2 separate regions of the Homo sapiens genome follow, and region 2 is linked to region 1. Evidence: promoter capture Hi-C in human tissues and cell types (Jung and others, 2019). All regions are on one chromosome and are shown on one strand. Each heading gives the region's core, a stretch centred on a gene start or on the middle of the fragment in contact. The rest is flanking DNA. Distances are from core to core; before and after follow the strand shown.

Region 1 (6,516 bases), core at 185-2,684:
AGCAGGTGAGGACCCATGGGTCTGTGGGTCAGGGCTGCCTCATGTGATTATCAGGAGTCCATCAGGAGAGTGCTGAGCCAGACCCTGAGAATGGCAGCTTCTAGAATTGTGCAGCTCCCCATCTGCACAACTGACCGATGTCCCCTGCAGCCCTCAGCCCAGGCAGCTTCCCTCTTTAAGGCCTGGCCCCCTCCCCTCACCCACCCCAGCCTCAGGATGTCCTGGGGCCCCTGCTCACGCCATCATGATGACACTGAAGTCCAGCCAGTTCCAGGGGTCCCGGAGGAATGTGAAGTCGTCGACACAGAAGCCTCGGGCCAGTATCTTGATGAGGGACTCAAAGGTGTAGATCCCTGTGAAGGTGTACCTGGGGGGGAGAGGGCCGGCCGGGACAGGCATGTCACCTGGGTAGGGGTCAGTGTGGCAACGACAGACCCCCAGAAGGGAGGGACACAGAAATGAAATATGCCACTCAGGTGGCTAAGGACACTAGCGAGTGATAGCATGGCCACCCCAGGGACTCAAGGTGTGGATGAGGGTCACAATGACAGTGTGTCTCCCTGAAAGACAAGAGCAGCACCACACAGAGGTGCAAACACCTGAGATGGGCTGTGTCCCAGGGCTGGGGAGCTCAGGGAGCAGGGAGACTTACTCCACATTCTTGGACCAGGGAGGCGGGTCACTCATGGTCATGAATACGCAGTTGGTCAAGATGGTGATCATGATGAACATGCTGAACAGCGTGGGGCAGGGTCAAGGAAAGTGAGGAAGCAGCTAGGATGGGAGGTGATAGAGGGTCTCCTGGGCCACAGCACCCCATCTCGCCCATCCCTAACCCCTCCCGCCTCTCCCATCTTGGGCAGGATATGCATGGATGAGCACCTTGATGGCCCCGCGCCTGACTACGCTGAAGGGGCTCAGCAGGTAGAGAGCAGGTGTGGCGGAGAAGCGGAAGATGGCCTTGCCCTTGTTGAGTACGATGAAGGTCTAAGGTGGGAGAGAGGCTGTGAGACCCAGGGACAGACAGACAGGCAGACAGATGGATGGATGGCAGACAGACAGAGGAAGCCTTCCCAGGCCCAGACCTTCTTATTGCTGTAGTAGGGATCCAGGTCCTCCAGGGGGATGCCGATGACCTCCGGCGGGGGGTCTCCGTAGATCATGGGTAGGTTCTTGCCAGCCTCCAAGTCACTTCGTGGCTTCCGTTCGGGCTCCTCAATCTCCATCTGCTTATTCCGCTGCAGCCGGGCCTCCTCCTCCACCGCCCGCTGTTCTATGGCTGCCAGTGACTCCCGGGTGAAGGGGCGCAAGCACTCAGGGCCCAGAGGCACCAGGGTGCACAGAGATGGTCTGGCCATCCTCGCATCCTGGGCTCAGAGACCAGAAGGGTGGTGGGTGGCCTGGGGAGCTGCAGTGCGCAGCCCCGGGGTGCTGGGCGGCCGCCCCTCCCTGGGCGGGCCGTCCACTCCTCACCTCCTGCTTGCCCAGTGGCCGAGCCGGGGAGGTGGGCGTGCAGACTCTATCAGGACTGGGAGATGTGCCTGCAAGGTGCTGCTGCTGCACAGGTGCTGGGCACAGAGCATCACCCCTGGCCCCCCCACCACACTTTCCCCAGAAGTGGCAGCGGCTGCCCTCAGGACCGACGGCAAACCAACCAGATTCTTTGTGGCCTTGGGACTTGGGGTCAACACCCCAGTGCCTTCGACTGCCTCCTGGGCCCAAGCTCCGGGAACTGTGTGGCTTCAGCCTAATGGGACAGAGAGAGAACCACAGCTGGCTGTGCTCAGGCGACCTCTGGATAGGCCAGGATGAGGGGCCTGGTTGGGGGGTTAGATCAAAGTGGGACTGGCACAGGGACTTCACCCTGAGGGCCGACGTGGATCCTGATATTGGCCACCTGGAGATGTAGGTGGAGACCATGAAGGTGGCAGCCAGGCTCTGTGCAAAAAGGTTGCTGTGATTGATTAGTGATGTCTGCCAGGGGCGCAAGGAGGAAGACCGTGGTGCCTCTGCCTGTGTTTGCCATCCCTGGCCTGGAGGGAAGGGAAAAGAAAGATGGGGGTGGGTGTGGATTCCTCTTTCCTGATCTTTGGGGTACTTGGTGTTGGGCTGGGAGAGGGAAGAAGAAAGGGCCCTGGGCCCGGCAGGGGTCTCCTAGCAGTTCCCTCCCACAGCCCTGGGGGCTCTAGCCCACTGGGCAGGCAGGGTGAACTGGGAGAGGAACATTGCATCTGGAGAGCTGCAGGTGCTAACGTGGAAGAGAAGACGTACAGGGAAGGTCACAGGGACAAGGAGATGGACAACTCCAATGGTGGGGGCAGGGCTAGAGCTCCTGGGGACTGCTTTTGGCTGGTGGTCCCAGCACAAGCTGGATTGGGGGAAGGGGCATCCACAAGGAGCCTTTGATGCCTGTGAGCATTGTGTGGTCTGGGCCCCACCTGGCCCCTCTCCCCTTCTGCCCAGCCCTCCAGAGCCTATTCCTGTGGAAGGGAAGGGGGATCACTTATTGCAAATGGCCCTGGGGGAATGACCACATCAGCAGGCAGTTGCAGTGAGACCCCTGCAGACCAGCTGCAGGCAGCCACTGCCAGACCCACATGGACAGACCTGGAGCCACCCCTGCACCACAGGGACCTGGACAGACCCCTAGAGACCCCCAAAGCCACACCTGAGGGTGGACCTCTCCCAGTGGGCCTTGACCCTTGCAGCAGCGCCCCTGCCCTGGTCAGCACGGGCGCTTCTCAGGCTTGCTCAACAGGTGGGGAGGGTGGCCAGGGAGAGGCCAGAGCCACTGGGCAGAGCTGGCCACGCCCTTGTGCCTGGCTCCCAGCTGCTCCTTACAGCACCCAGGGAGTCGTGTTTCCACGGGGATGACTCTGCTTATTCCTGCCAACCCTGCCCTCAGCTGCTCACTGGCCCCTGTCGTGAGCGTGGGCGTGCATGTGCACACACTTGCACACACAGGCACATGCACGCACACCCGGCCTGGAGCCACCCCACATGCAGACCTTCCCAGTTGCATCTCACAGCTCTGTCATATACCTTGCCACCTTCCTCCCCATCACCCACTCCACGTACACCCCCACATGCTGCTTGTCACTACACAGAAGGCGCCAACCAGCCAGATGGCCTTGAAGAGACCCCAGGGCTGCTGTGCACCCACCCAGTCTGCAGTCCCTGCTGTGATGATCCTCCTGTCCTGATACTGCTCACTCTTTTCATTACACGAGCCCAAGTAGGGCCACAAAAGCCCACAGACACATAGTCTGGCTCCCAACCCCAGCACTCGAGGAAATGACTCTCACCTGAGTCACCAGAGCTCCCCAGGGGACAGATCCAGTGTTTTCTTCCCCGCTGGCCCTCCTGAGCTTCCCACACCGCACACCGCCTTTCTTCTTGGGAGCAGGACATCACCTGTGCGTCCGGCCACTCTCCCCAGCTCTGCTCTGGGACCTGCCCCTTCCCTGCCCCTGGAAGATGCTTCTTCTCTGGGGCCTGCTCTGCAGCCTGTTTTCTTTGCACAGCGTACACCTCTCCCTTCAAAATGTTCACTTCCTCCTAATTTCCTCTTCTCCTACTCCTCCATTACCCCTGAGGTCTGGCTGTTTTGTAATGTGAGGGGAGGAATGTCCTCACTGGTTCCACTTGCTGAAGCTGGCTTTGGTTGGTGGCTGCCCGAAGCATCATGGTGGTAGATCTGGCCAGTTCCACACCCTACTGATGCTCCCTCTCCAGTGTCACTGCCCTCTCCACCCTCCACCCCTCACCTGTTCTGTTCAAATAACCTCCCCGCGTGGTGACATGCTCCTGTAGTCCCAGCTACGAAGGCAGGAGGATCCCTTAAGCTCAGGAGTTCGAGGCTGCAGTGAGCCATGATGGTGCCACTGTCCTCCAGCCTGGGTGACAGAGTGAGACCCTGTCTCAAAAACCAACCAAAGAAACACCTCCCACCAGGCTCTCCCCTAGACTGCCATAAATATTTGTAAAGTCACAAATTTCACCCCCTGCTTAAATCTTCAATGGCTTTCCACTGCTTAGGAGTACGTCCTAAGCCCTACCCAGGGCTCCCAAGGCCCTCCATGATCAGATCCCTGCCTCATTGCCTACCCTTCCCGCATCCTCTGGCCATGCTACCTCCATTTTCACAAATGGGCCAAGCTGTTTTCCACCCCCCTGCCCTAACCCCCATGCCTTTGCTTGTGGTTTGCTCTCCTCCCAGAGCACCCATCTTCTTTGTCTCCCTGGAGAGCTTCCATTCATCTTTCTAGACTCAACCCACACAAGAACCACCTCCTCCAGGAAGCCCTCCCTGGGTACCCTGGCTGGGTGGAACTCTCCCCTTGTTTGTGTCACCAGCTCAATAAAAGTTTATCAAATGAATAAGTGAGTGAATCACAGGGACACTCTACCTTAGCTCTTTTCTCCTTTAAGCATACCCTGAACCTAAATCATAACCAGAAACCATATCTCCTCTGAAATCACCACTTCAAACTCTTCCTTTGCCCCTGCCACCTTCTCAGCTCCTGGCTCAGGGGCCCGGTTGCTATAATCTTTGGGCACTTTCAGTTCTTTGACCCTGCACTTTCTCCCTTTCCACCTGCTTCTGACTTCATGTCCCTCCTCATCTAGGCTTACTTAGAAGATCATCATTCTGGTCCCTCCTCCACAGCTCCCAGGGAGAGATCCCAGAAGGAGGGATCTCTCTCCTTCTATCACACAGTCCTGGGGAACCCCTAACTGCATGTCCCCAGCTCTGGTTTTCCAAAGTCAGCCCCGAGCTGGAGAAATGTGGCTGGGGAAATGGTATGACTAGGCTGAGCTCACCGTAAATTCATGGTCACATATTCTGGGTTTGTCCTCAATCCTGCCAGCCCTGTAGTGTGGATTTTTCTGGTAGGCTCACTTTTCCACTTTTTGAAAACAACTATTTCATGCCTTCTCCTCTTTCCTCAGACCTCCGCGCTCCTCCCCATGAGCCTCCCAGCTGATGGTCTTCCCTGAGGAAGGAAGAACCACTACACACACACTGTCAAATCCACAGAACCATCTCCCCATCCCACCCCGTCTTCCTCTATCCTGTTAGAATAATAATAAGAAGCAAGGGTCAGGCTTTCCTGGGGCTCAGGACCCCAGCCCCTCTTGCTTCTCAAAGACCTCTCCAGGTGCCCTCTCTCTACTGCCCATCCACCTCTCCCCATCTGTGAACAGACTCTAGTGTCCCCCACTTTAAAAACAATGGCAGTGGTGACAAAACTATTCTCCTGGCCCCACACCTCCCTGCATCTATTGCCCTATTTTTCTTTCCTCTTCACAGTAAAACTTCTTGGAAAGTGTCTACACCAGCTGTCTTGACTTCCTTACCTTTCATTCTCTCTCCAATCCATTCCAACCTGGCTTCCGTTTCCCCTTCAACTGAAACTACTTTTGTCAAGTCACTAACACCCTCCCTGCTGCCAAGTCCAGTGAACACGCTTCTGTCCTCAGCTCCCAGAGCCTCTCAGAAGCATGCAGCCCAGTTGGCCACAGCCCCTTTCTGGAAGCACCTGATTCTCACAGCCTCCATGGAAGCTGCTTGCTGTTTCCCTTCCACATCCCTGGCTGCTCCGTATCACTTTCCTCTGCTTGTCCTGATTTCTGTCCCCAATCTCTAATGTTTTTCAGGGTTCGAGCTGGTTCAGGGTGGCATCATTCCTATGACCATAAATAATGTCATGGGGCCAGGCACGGTGGCTCACGCCTGTAATCCCAGTGCTTTGGAAGGCCAAAGTGGGAGGATCGTTTGAGCCTAGGAATTGGAGACCAGTCTGGGCAACATAGTGAGACCCTGTCTCCACAAAAAACAAAATAATTAGCTGGGTGCGGTGGTGTGTGCCTATAGTCCCAGCTATTCGGGAGGCTGAGGCAGGAGGATCACTTGAACCCACGGAAGTGGAGTCTGCAGTGAGCTGTGATTGCACTACTGCACTACAGCCTCGGCGATAGAGCAAGACCGTGTCTCTAAAAATCAATAAATACAATAAAATAATAAATTAATTATAAAATAATAAGTTCATGAATAAAATAATAGTAATGTCATGGGAATGTGATAAACGTTTCCCTTGACGTCCAGGCTGGTATATTCAACTGCCCCCAGACGGCTCCACCGGGATGGCTCACACCCTCCCAACTGCAATCAGACGTTTGCATCTTCCACTGTTCCACCCTTCAACCCAGGAAACGGCATCACTGCTATTGGCTGCTCAAATAAAAAATTAAGGTATCTCCCTGAATTCTCCTTTTTCTTCACCTTCCACACCAAGCCTGTCCAAAGTTCTATTAATATCATCTCCCACATACTCCTATATTTGACATTTTTCCATCTCCCTGGGTCCATACCACAATAGTCTCTTACAATAGCCTGTTTCCTGCTATCTGCTTTTGCACACACACCCTCCGAATCAGTCCCCTAAAATAGCTATTGATCTTTTAAAAACAAAAACTAGTCATGCTGTTTCTCCTTTTAAAATTCTCCAGGCT
Region 2 (6,447 bases), core at 2,130-4,629, 150 kb after region 1:
CAGGACTATTTTCATTACAAGAGGCAGAAATCTTGGGGATACTAAACTTACAGGACAAGGTAAGTCATTGGCTCATGGTCTCACATTACTCAAGTAGGCTGGCAAGGACTTCAGGATTTGCCAATCTCTTCCAGGCACTCCCTGCCTCATACTTCTTCCTGTTGGCTGACTCTTCTATTTCAACTCCTGTGTGCTAGTTCACTTACTCCAACCCTGCCCCTAAGCTGGACTCTTATCCTACATATATGCAGAAAGAAGGGTCCTGTTACACACAAGGCAATGCCGCCCCAAGGCCTGTAAAACTCCTGGCTTCAAGGGGTTTGCCGTCTAGCAGGAGAGTCGTGTAATGCAGAAAAAAAGACGGCAAGTTCCATGGCCGAACTTCCCGAAAGCTGACTTGGCAGCATATCCAGGTCCTGCCCAGAGCAGTTCCAAGAGTCTGGTCCCACCCTACCCTGCTCAGCTGTCTTCTCACTCCTTGCCCTAGCCTGTGTCCATATAGCTTCAAAACCTGTTATTTTATCCTCTCAAAACTCTTTGGTTTAAAAACAAAACCAAAGTTCCTCAGGTATCCTCATGAGTCTGGAACATATAGATGCTTTTGGGGTGAATGAAGCTGACAGAAGATGAGGTGGGCACACAGATGCATGGTCTGGTTTGAGCTCTGGGCAAGTCATTAGATTTTTCCAGGCATGGGTTTCCAAGAAAGTAAGAAGCCTGAGGTGGATGGTGGCTGCAGCTCTGAAGCATGATGATCCATGACTTACCAGACCCTCATCTCTCCTCAGGCTTTGCTGCAGCTTCTTCTAGCCCCAACCAATCAAAACATGCCCAAAATCCGCATAACAATTTGACAGAGTTTAGAAGTCCTAATGCCTTTGAACATAGTCATTTCCAATCCTGGTCTTGCAACATCTAAGTGTCTCCGCTTATCTCAAAATATTGCAACATTAGAAATTAGTAATAATCTGACTCACTTTAAGGTTCAGGATGGGGAAAAGAAATACCATGAAAATCAACTAATGTTACATGGGACCAGGTGGCTGATTCCCAGGCACACCTACCTACTATAGACTCTAAAAGCAACCATCTCCTAAACTGAAAGGGTGATACCTTTTCTTCTGCCAACCACAAATCAGATAAGTGATTGAACTTTTACCAGGCACCGAAAGCCCCAGAGATTTCCAAGCACTGAACCATCAAGATCAAGATAACTTAGGGTCCGTTTTACAAGCAACTGTGGCTTGGTTCCCAGTTAGTCGAGCACCAAAACTACAGATAAACTTGTTCTTAATCTCCACATATAAAGGAAACCGTTTTCTTCTTTGCAAAACCAGCTCATGGCAAGTGGAAAACGAACCCTAACAGAATTCTAGAATAAGGTCACTGGATTGCTCATAATGAGGTAGTACCTTTAAAGGTCAGAGATTCCCCAAATTTGTTCTTAGAACTTTCTTACCGCATTTCAATTTATCGGGAGATGTTACAAATACTCCTACAATGGAAAAAAAATGTAATCTTATTTAATGTAAAAAAAAAATAACACACACACACACACACACAAACACACCCATTTGTGTATTTGGGTGCACAGCCATCACAAAAATCAAAGAATGGCTGGTTCTGACCCCTCTGAGTTGTGGGGGTTTTCTGAGGTTTCCCTGACAGGATTTAATGTCTTATCATGTTATCCTTAAAAATCAACAACGTGGCCGGGAGCGGTGGCTCATGCCTGTAATCCCAGCACTTTGGGAGGCCGAGGTGGGCGGATCACAAGGTCCGGAGATTGAGACCATCCTGGCTAACACGGTGAAACCCTGTCTTTACTAAAAATACAAAAAAAAAAAAAAAAAGCCAGGTGTTGTGGCGTGTGCCTGTATTCCCAGCTACTTGGGAGGCTGAGGCAGGAGAATGGTGTGAACCCGGGAGGCGGAGCTTGCAGTGAGCAGAGATCATGCCACTGCCCTCACTCCAGCCTCAACGACAGAGTGAGATTCCATCTCAAAAAATAAATAAATAATAAAAATTTTTAAAAAAATCAACAATGTGGCCAGGCGCAGTGGCTCATGCCTGTAACCCCAGCACTTTGGGAGGCCAAAGCAGGTGGATCACTTGAGGCCAGGAGTTTGAGACTCACCTGGGCAACATGGCGAAACCCCGTCTCTACTAAAAATACAAAAATTAGCTGGGCGTATTGGCACATGGCTGTAATCCCAGCTACTCGGGAGGCTGAAGCACGAAAATCACTTGAACCCGGGAGGCGGAGGTTGCAGTAAGCCAAAATCACGCCACTGCACTCCAGTGTGGGCGACACAGTGAGACTCTATCTCAAAAAAAAAGAAAGAAAAAGAAAAAGAAAAGAAAAAAGAAATAGAAAGTAAAGAAAAATCAACAATGTTCACGCTCAGTCCCTCATATTTGCTCAGGATTTTCAGACATACCTGAGGACTATCAACACCAGTCCTCCAGAAGATTAGACAAGAAACAAACAGGAGCACCAACCTGTACATTACCCCAACACTAAGTGACGTGGTGCTATTTGGAGTGCAGGAAGGGATCTAGTCTACGAGAGTACAGTGGTCAGGGAAGGCCCTAGGCCCTATACAAGACAGGTGAGCGAGAGCCGATGAAACCACACCACGGTGTGTGGCAACTTACGAGGCCTCCATCTCCCTTGCTCTGCTCTATGTTTCTCCCCTGCAACCCCTGCAGAATTTTATCACCTTATCACATTCTATATAATGTATTTACCATGCTGTTGTCTATCCCAACCAACTAGGTAGAAGTTCCATGAGGGCGGGGGTCTTTGTTTTGTTCATGTTTCCCAAGCATCTCAAACAGTGCTTGGCATAAAATATGTACTCAAAAAGTTGATAAATAAATGGATGAACAGATGAAATTCACTACATTCAAGAGCTAGGAAGCTGGGAGGCTCAAAGCAAAGCAGCCCTCCCATCTTCTACCTCCCCGTATGAGGCTGCACCAGAAAAAGAGGCGGCTGGGGGACTAGTCGCTTTCACCTAAATGGTGATCCTAATTTGGGAAGACATTTGGAAACAGGCCCACCAAAGAGATTTTCTGGTTCCGTTGCTTTGTTTTACAGATGAGGAAGCAGAGGGGGAAATAACTCATTTGCCCAAAGTTGCACAGCTAGCTAGTACAGAACCTCCGGACTCTCACTTGCTGAAAGAATGCATACAATTTCATCATATGGGGCAAACACACATATAGAAACAAGATACTGGCCCTATGATTACATTTAAAAACAGCTAAAATGATTTTACATTTAAAAACAGCTAAATGCCTATCTGCTCAAGGAGTGCAGAACTGGTCTGCCACTTGGGATTTCCTTTAAGCATTAAGTTAAATTAGGAAACAGCCCTGGTGCTGGAGTCCACACAGCGCTTTCAGGCCAGGTGCCAAGCCCCATTCCAAGGTTGTATTCAAAGAGCGGGCTCCCAATTCTACTGACATTTGTCAACTTGGTTCCAGCAGAGTTTTGGATTTGGTCCAGCCCACTCAATGTGATGCTTGAAAGCAAGTGTCCTCCTGTTTCTAAACCAGCTAATAAAGATCCTCTGAGAAACAACTGAGATGGGTCCGGGAGCTGAGACAACTGACTGGTCCTCTCCTGTGTTCTACAGTTGGGCTTGTCAGCTCGGCACCTGCTATAAAAACCCTTCGAGGGAACTCTGCCTGACTCAGGCAATGAGGCTAATAGCCAGCTCTCACATGAAAAGGGGAAGGGAGTGTCACAGCCTGCACCCTCCCACCATTTGCTTCCAAAACATATGTTCCCACCCTGATAGGAAAGTTCCTGTTGGTTCACAAGCTTCTTCTTGTGCTTTAACTAACTCACTCCTTCTACAAATCCCTTCTCCTCACTCGCAATGGCTATTTCATTTTTGTTATGGAAGGTTCTTTTAAAACCATGAAGATGATTTTACCCATCAGGATACTGTGAAGGAGCCTGGAAAACAACATTGTTTTGATTTCTTAAGCCTCTTAATATATGGAAAAGGCAATAAACAAATATATAAATAAATAAACAAGCATAAGTCGGGTAACTTTAAATAAACATTTAAACATCTTACAATTCAGTAACTAAATATGTTTTAATATAAGGCCTATTAGTTAAAGCTGATAAAAGCAATTTCAACAGTTTGTATTCAAAGGAAAAAATCCATTAAATTACCTGCTCTTTAAAAGTTGAATGATATAGTACAGTAGAGAAAATGTAATATTAGGTTCCTTTTTTTCTAGGTTTTTTTTTTTTTTTTTTTTTTTTTTTTTGAGATTGAGTTTCACTCTTGTTCCCCAGGCTGGAGTGCAGTGGTGGGATCTTGGCTCACTGCAACCTCTGCCTCCTGGGTTCAAGCAATTCTCCTGCCTCAGCCTCCCAAGCAGCTGGGATTACAGGCACGCGCCACCACGCCTGGCTAATTTTTGTCATTTTTTTAGTAGAGACGGGGTTTCACCATGTTGGCCAGGCTGATCTCCAACTCCTGACCTCAGATGATCCGCCCGTCTCAGCCTCCCAAAGTGCTGGGATTACAGGCATGAGCCACCACGCCTAGAACTAGAAATAAAGTTAGAACTTTATTTCTAGTTCTAACACTAACTAGCGGACTCTATCAATCCTAACCTCTCTGTAAAATGAGCCAAATGCTGTGTCTAGTCTGGTCCCGTGCTCTGTGACGTGACTGGGAATTTGGAGATGCATTTGTTCTTTCCAGGATTAAGGTACAAAAATTACTTGAAGGCCTCATCCTGGCTGCACATCAGAGTCACTTGGGCCTTAAAACATTTTTTGCTGGTTTATTTGGTAGAGATGGGGTCTTTCATTGTTGCCCAGTCTGGTCTCAAACTCCTGACTTCAAGTGATCCTCTTGTCTTGGCCTCCCAAAGTGCTGGGATTACAGGTGTAAGCCACTGAGCCTGGCCTTAAACATTTTTTTTTTAAAAAAGAAAAGATGCCGGCCCCCACTCCCAGAGATTCCAATTTCATTCACATAGGATGGGGCCCCAGCACAGCGTTTTTAAAAAGCTCCCCAGGTGACTGAGTCATGGCTGGGAAGCACCGCCTCAAGTAACACATTCCTAGCCACAGTTGTGGCCCCCTGTACAGGTGATTCTCTCACTCCTAGTGGCCCCTCAGGAGTCATGGGCCATTTGCTTTAAGAGAAGAGAGATCTGATTTACCTTGGTCAACAAACTTCTCTGACTCAACTGGAGATCAATGACAATGTCAGGTTCTAGGGATGTGACAGCACTGTTTGTTCAGAGAATGTACAGAAAAATTCGGTTTCCATGACAGACACTCCTGCAGCCCAGACAAACAATTATTCCTTCATCTGACAGAGAGGGGGGAAATAATCCACTGGAGAATGGGATGGTTTTGAATTATAATTATAAATTAGTCTACTAACAAAGGAAGTCATGTTTAATACATGAGAGGACAACTCTGGGCCAAGGTTCATTTTTTTAACAGTGAAACATCATGCTGAGTGAAAAATGAAACTGACATGAAATAATCACAAACTGTTTACCTCATGGAGTTTGGCAATGGAAAAATTAATCTCATTACTGATAAGAAGAGCCCACCAAAAGAACACTACACACTATGGGTCACGTCCACCCAAGCAAATATCCTGAAAGCTCCTCTAGTTCTGTAGAAAGACACACAACTGGTGCAATCCCATTAAAGAATATAAAATATAGCTGAAGCAATACCTCCCACCCCCATCCACAACCCACTTGCTTGATGATATAATACAGCCCCTTTATTGGTCTTAATGAGTCTCAAAGAAGAATTCAATAAATATTTGCTGAGTGCCCCCTACAGTGGGTATAACCAGCATGCCACGTTAAATGCCACAGAGGATGCAACCATCAGCAAGCCAGGGTCCCTGCCTTCTCGGATGAACCAGCAAGGGAAGTGAGACACACTCCCAGGGGCACCTTCCTTCCCCCCTTGCTCCTTCCTTCCCTCATTAGTCTCCTCTGAGAGCTACCTAAGCTAACTTGAATCCCTCCATTGTGGTTTAAGAGCCAGAGTCACAGCCACTGTCTCTCTCCTGTCATCACAGACCTGCTCCCTGGTGCCAGAACTGCTTGGCAGGTGGCGCCTCTGCAAAGGCAAACACCCAGAACCAGCACGGTAATGCAAGAGTTCTATCTTTTCAGGACTTCTTGGTGAAGGCTGTGACTGAGCTAGAGAAGAGCGGCTTGGGTTAAAGGCCTCTAAGGAAAGAACTTTCAGTTTTGTTCTTTCAGACATATGACTAGGCGAGATGTTACTGAAAACATGCACCTGCTTGGATATTATTAGACTCCAAGCAAAGAAATTAGCTTAAACTGTGAATTAGGCTTAGCAGGCAATTTTTTGTTGTTGTTGTTGAGACGGAGTCTCTGTTGCCCAGGCTGGAGTGCAATGGCAGGATCTCA

Evidence for each region. Contacts are between HindIII fragments. The study calls those that stand out against the background at their distance.
Region 2: a fragment that was not itself captured here is called in contact with the fragment with the promoter of SCN4A in region 1 in 1 of the 25 tissues and cell types used here (mesenchymal stem cells).

The regions. Positions count from the first base shown.
Region 1 is chr17:63,971,484-63,977,999 of GRCh38, forward strand. SCN4A (sodium voltage-gated channel alpha subunit 4) reads right to left here and starts at 1,435. Exons shown (of 24, transcript NM_000334.4): 1 at 1,086-1,435; 2 at 869-987; 3 at 653-742; 4 at 239-367. The coding sequence starts at 1,358. The HindIII fragment of the contact is 21,993 bases long and covers 1-6,516 here.
Region 2 is chr17:64,115,113-64,121,559 of GRCh38, forward strand. The region is part of intron 1 of ERN1 (endoplasmic reticulum to nucleus signaling 1); the gene reads right to left. Among named protein-coding and RNA genes, the nearest start is that of ERN1, 12 kb to the right of the region's middle. RefSeq lists enhancers at 5,926-5,985, 6,216-6,355. The HindIII fragment of the contact is 3,950 bases long and covers 1,405-5,354 here.